Linked DNA regions of Homo sapiens: region 2 is linked to region 1. The links are contacts of gene promoters, found by promoter capture Hi-C in human tissues and cell types (Jung and others, 2019). All regions are on one chromosome and are shown on one strand. The core of a region is centred on a gene start or on the middle of the fragment in contact, and the rest is flanking DNA. Distances in the headings are between cores, read along the strand shown.

The links. The method cuts DNA at HindIII sites, captures the fragments that hold promoters and counts their contacts. A contact is called where the count stands out against the background at its distance.
Region 2: a contact is called between a fragment that was not itself captured here and the fragment with the promoter of TERT in region 1, in 2 of the 25 tissues and cell types used here (heart left ventricle and spleen).

The regions. Positions count from the first base shown.
Region 1 is chr5:1,293,818-1,296,627 of GRCh38, reverse strand. It overlaps TERT (telomerase reverse transcriptase), which reads left to right and starts at 1,560. Exons shown (of 16, transcript NM_198253.3): 1 at 1,560-1,857; 2 at 1,962-2,810. The coding sequence starts at 1,639. RefSeq lists silencers at 1,214-1,303, 1,404-1,473, cis regulatory regions at 1,506-1,514, 1,526-1,534, 1,604-1,636, 1,639-1,995, enhancers at 883-1,599, 1,570-1,612 and promoters at 1,309-2,000, 1-2,000. The HindIII fragment of the contact is 7,642 bases long and covers 1-2,299 here.
Region 2 is chr5:1,604,376-1,607,185 of GRCh38, reverse strand. It overlaps the pseudogene PDCD6P1. Among named protein-coding and RNA genes, the nearest start is that of LPCAT1, 82 kb to the right of the region's middle. The HindIII fragment of the contact is 7,274 bases long and covers 1-2,810 here.

The DNA of each region.
Region 1 (2,810 bases), core at 311-2,810:
GGGAGGCGTTTCCTCGCCATGCACATGGTGTTAATTACTCCAGCATAATCTTCTGCTTCCATTTCTTCTCTTCCCTCTTTTAAAATTGTGTTTTCTATGTTGGCTTCTCTGCAGAGAACCAGTGTAAGCTACAACTTAACTTTTGTTGGAACAAATTTTCCAAACCGCCCCTTTGCCCTAGTGGCAGAGACAATTCACAAACACAGCCCTTTAAAAAGGCTTAGGGATCACTAAGGGGATTTCTAGAAGAGCGACCTGTAATCCTAAGTATTTACAAGACGAGGCTAACCTCCAGCGAGCGTGACAGCCCAGGGAGGGTGCGAGGCCTGTTCAAATGCTAGCTCCATAAATAAAGCAATTTCCTCCGGCAGTTTCTGAAAGTAGGAAAGGTTACATTTAAGGTTGCGTTTGTTAGCATTTCAGTGTTTGCCGACCTCAGCTACAGCATCCCTGCAAGGCCTCGGGAGACCCAGAAGTTTCTCGCCCCTTAGATCCAAACTTGAGCAACCCGGAGTCTGGATTCCTGGGAAGTCCTCAGCTGTCCTGCGGTTGTGCCGGGGCCCCAGGTCTGGAGGGGACCAGTGGCCGTGTGGCTTCTACTGCTGGGCTGGAAGTCGGGCCTCCTAGCTCTGCAGTCCGAGGCTTGGAGCCAGGTGCCTGGACCCCGAGGTTGCCCTCCACCCTGTGCGGGCGGGATGTGACCAGATGTTGGCCTCATCTGCCAGACAGAGTGCCGGGGCCCAGGGTCAAGGCCGTTGTGGCTGGTGTGAGGCGCCCGGTGCGCGGCCAGCAGGAGCGCCTGGCTCCATTTCCCACCCTTTCTCGACGGGACCGCCCCGGTGGGTGATTAACAGATTTGGGGTGGTTTGCTCATGGTGGGGACCCCTCGCCGCCTGAGAACCTGCAAAGAGAAATGACGGGCCTGTGTCAAGGAGCCCAAGTCGCGGGGAAGTGTTGCAGGGAGGCACTCCGGGAGGTCCCGCGTGCCCGTCCAGGGAGCAATGCGTCCTCGGGTTCGTCCCCAGCCGCGTCTACGCGCCTCCGTCCTCCCCTTCACGTCCGGCATTCGTGGTGCCCGGAGCCCGACGCCCCGCGTCCGGACCTGGAGGCAGCCCTGGGTCTCCGGATCAGGCCAGCGGCCAAAGGGTCGCCGCACGCACCTGTTCCCAGGGCCTCCACATCATGGCCCCTCCCTCGGGTTACCCCACAGCCTAGGCCGATTCGACCTCTCTCCGCTGGGGCCCTCGCTGGCGTCCCTGCACCCTGGGAGCGCGAGCGGCGCGCGGGCGGGGAAGCGCGGCCCAGACCCCCGGGTCCGCCCGGAGCAGCTGCGCTGTCGGGGCCAGGCCGGGCTCCCAGTGGATTCGCGGGCACAGACGCCCAGGACCGCGCTTCCCACGTGGCGGAGGGACTGGGGACCCGGGCACCCGTCCTGCCCCTTCACCTTCCAGCTCCGCCTCCTCCGCGCGGACCCCGCCCCGTCCCGACCCCTCCCGGGTCCCCGGCCCAGCCCCCTCCGGGCCCTCCCAGCCCCTCCCCTTCCTTTCCGCGGCCCCGCCCTCTCCTCGCGGCGCGAGTTTCAGGCAGCGCTGCGTCCTGCTGCGCACGTGGGAAGCCCTGGCCCCGGCCACCCCCGCGATGCCGCGCGCTCCCCGCTGCCGAGCCGTGCGCTCCCTGCTGCGCAGCCACTACCGCGAGGTGCTGCCGCTGGCCACGTTCGTGCGGCGCCTGGGGCCCCAGGGCTGGCGGCTGGTGCAGCGCGGGGACCCGGCGGCTTTCCGCGCGCTGGTGGCCCAGTGCCTGGTGTGCGTGCCCTGGGACGCACGGCCGCCCCCCGCCGCCCCCTCCTTCCGCCAGGTGGGCCTCCCCGGGGTCGGCGTCCGGCTGGGGTTGAGGGCGGCCGGGGGGAACCAGCGACATGCGGAGAGCAGCGCAGGCGACTCAGGGCGCTTCCCCCGCAGGTGTCCTGCCTGAAGGAGCTGGTGGCCCGAGTGCTGCAGAGGCTGTGCGAGCGCGGCGCGAAGAACGTGCTGGCCTTCGGCTTCGCGCTGCTGGACGGGGCCCGCGGGGGCCCCCCCGAGGCCTTCACCACCAGCGTGCGCAGCTACCTGCCCAACACGGTGACCGACGCACTGCGGGGGAGCGGGGCGTGGGGGCTGCTGCTGCGCCGCGTGGGCGACGACGTGCTGGTTCACCTGCTGGCACGCTGCGCGCTCTTTGTGCTGGTGGCTCCCAGCTGCGCCTACCAGGTGTGCGGGCCGCCGCTGTACCAGCTCGGCGCTGCCACTCAGGCCCGGCCCCCGCCACACGCTAGTGGACCCCGAAGGCGTCTGGGATGCGAACGGGCCTGGAACCATAGCGTCAGGGAGGCCGGGGTCCCCCTGGGCCTGCCAGCCCCGGGTGCGAGGAGGCGCGGGGGCAGTGCCAGCCGAAGTCTGCCGTTGCCCAAGAGGCCCAGGCGTGGCGCTGCCCCTGAGCCGGAGCGGACGCCCGTTGGGCAGGGGTCCTGGGCCCACCCGGGCAGGACGCGTGGACCGAGTGACCGTGGTTTCTGTGTGGTGTCACCTGCCAGACCCGCCGAAGAAGCCACCTCTTTGGAGGGTGCGCTCTCTGGCACGCGCCACTCCCACCCATCCGTGGGCCGCCAGCACCACGCGGGCCCCCCATCCACATCGCGGCCACCACGTCCCTGGGACACGCCTTGTCCCCCGGTGTACGCCGAGACCAAGCACTTCCTCTACTCCTCAGGCGACAAGGAGCAGCTGCGGCCCTCCTTCCTACTCAGCTCTCTGAGGCCCAGCCTGACTGGC
Region 2 (2,810 bases), core at 83-2,582, 310 kb before region 1:
GTGGGGCTCCGGCAGGCCCCATGTCATGTGCAGATGAGGGATTAGGGTTCCGCCCGGCCTCGCTGCTCTCAGGCCCTCATGGGCTCCTCTCCCCACCCCCGTGCAGCCAGCGGACCCTGCCCCCCACCCAGCTGCTCCCCCCTAGCTGCTCCCCCCCAGCTGCTCCCCCCAGCTGCTCCAACTCAGCTGCTCACACCCAGCTGCTCCCCCTCAGCTGCTCCCACCCAGCTACTCCCCCCAGCTGCTCCCCCCTAGCTGCTCCCACCCAGCTGCTCCCACCCAGCTGCTCCCCCCTAGCTGCTCCCACCCAGCTGCTCCCCCCAGCTGCTCCCCCTCAGCTGCTCCCCCCCAGCTACTCCCCCCAGCTGCTCCCACCCAGCTGCTCCCACCCAGCTGTTCCCACCCAGCTGCTCCCACCCAGCTGCTCCCCCCAGCTGTTCTCCCCCAGCTGCTCCCCCCCAGCTGCTCCCACCCAGCTGTTCTCAGGTTTCTCATCCTTCCTGGATGACGCCCTACCTGGGGCACCCGTTCCTGTGGCATCCCCAGTCCTGCACTGCAGCACTCACCCTGTCACCTCCATGGCGAGACCATCTTGGAACCATGATCAGCCCATCGGGTTTCATCCATTATCCTCCTAGCCCATTTTCTGTGCTGATTTCTCATTCCCAAAACATCTTGGAATTACAAGAAATTAACTTTTTTCAAGGTCTCTGTGCTTCTGAAGTAGGTTTGCCTTAATATAACATTGATGTATTTTTAAGGGGCATTTTTAAAGCTGTACTTTAAGAAATAATTTTTATATTCTTTTGAAGGTTTTTTTTTTCTTTAAGATGGAGTCTCACTCTGTCGCCCAGGCTGGAGTGCAATGGCGCAATCTTGGCTCACTGCAACCTCCACCTCCCGGGTTCAAGCAATTCTCCTCCCTCAGCCTCCTGAGTAGCTGGGATTACAGGCATGCACCCCACACCTGGCTAATTTTGTATTTTCAGTAGATACGGGGTTTCACCATGTTGGTCAAGCTGGTCTCAACTCCTGACCTCATGATCCACCCACCTTGGTCTCCCAAAGTGCTGGGATTACAGGCGTGAGCCCCTGCGCCCGGCCGGTATTTTTTTTTTAATCAAATACAGTTGAGGCTCTCTTGGAGATCCCATATTAAAGAGAACTGAGAAAAATCAGACCTCAGAAGCAGGACAGTGCCCTGTGAAGTACATGTCCATTCCCATCACTGTCCTTCTCTCACATGGGCCCAGGGATGTGGGTGATGGTATTTGTTGCCCCTGGTGATGGAGCAGATTTGATCTGCCTATGTGGGAAGGGTTTAACTCAGCGGGTGTGGATTGCTCAAACCCTGCACGTTCCCAGGAGGGGCCCTTGGCTGGCTCCTGGGAGCTGAGCTCCTGCAGTGTTCTGACTGATGAGAGAGACTGGAGCCATGTTGCACTACTTTGCCTGGGTAGTTGACCAACAAGGTGATGGATGGCAAACACCTGCTTTCGCTGTGGGTGGCTGGAACTTCCCTGACTGACCCCCAGGTTCAGGAGAGCCTCCCTGGTCCGCACCACGGCACTAGCTGTCCCAGCTTCTTGCTGGAGGAATCCGGTGCACCCTGTGTGACTCCGCTGGGAGGGACTCTGGAAGCGCCTGGCTTCCCTGGCAGCCCTTTCCCTTGGCTGGTTTACTCTGTACCCTTTCAAGTTGGAGGGTGGTCTCAGGGACCCCCATGCAGTCTTTCGTGCTTTCACCAAAAACTCACCTTGGCAGGGCTTCAGGGGAAGGCTTGGGATTTGGTGACAAGTGACTCCATGGCCTTGGGCAAAGCACAGCATCTACTTAGGTTTTCAGGCGGTTGCCCAGGTATGTCTAGCACCTAATGTAACCGAGGCGTGAAATGCCTGTGCGCCATGGTGCTTCAGCTCGTTATGGGCCGTTAGGCCTTGTGGTGGTTCTCTCTTGGTTTCTGTGGAGAAGCCAGACCCCGCTGTGGTTGGCAAGGAAGGCGAGTGGAGACATCAGGAGTGTCCATCCCTCAGCGGCCCTTTCTGGTGGGGTGGCTGCCTCTCTCTCATCCTTGATTAATCCCGGGACAACCTCTGCTCTCCTGGGCAATCCTTAGAATACTCCGGAAGACCCCAGTATGGCCGTCCGGTTCCTCCTGGGCCCCAGCTCTCAGGAATGCACCATCTGGGCACACTCCATGCGTGCCCGTCCAGATGGCACCTGAGCTTCCCTGTGCCTGTGCTGTGGCATTAACATCTCGCTTGTGTTTTAACCTGTGTTGCTTTGGTTTAAAACTTGTTTGACCGTGTTATTTGCTGAGATGGCCCAGAGAAGCTTCTACTTATGATCAGGACACGTCACAGTGCAGCCTTCACTTGAGGACTTAGGTCTCATCCAGCTCCACACAGTCAGTCCAGGGCCACGGACGCAGAAGACAGAGGAGAAGAAGCTCATGGCATAAAGACAGAGGATTGATTGCCCAGGAGGCTTCCAGGGGCTTTGGCTCCTGGGGCTTCTTGTCAGCGCTGGGTCAGAGCAGGTCACCCTTGTGTGCAGACACTAGGTTGCTGCACACAGCGGTGAAGAATGGGGGAGACCAGATGGAATTGGGTGAGGCAGGGATGCTCCTTGGTGTTTAGAGTTTTCCTCTTTCTTTGCCTTGTGGGTTCTCTGTAGCCCATCTTTGCTTTTTGTAACACTAGTTTTCAGTAATTCCGACCTTTCCGAATACCTCTATGTACATATACCTGTCTACTCTCCTTTCAGATACCTGTAAAGCCTACAGAAAGGTAATCCTGCAGATTATCACT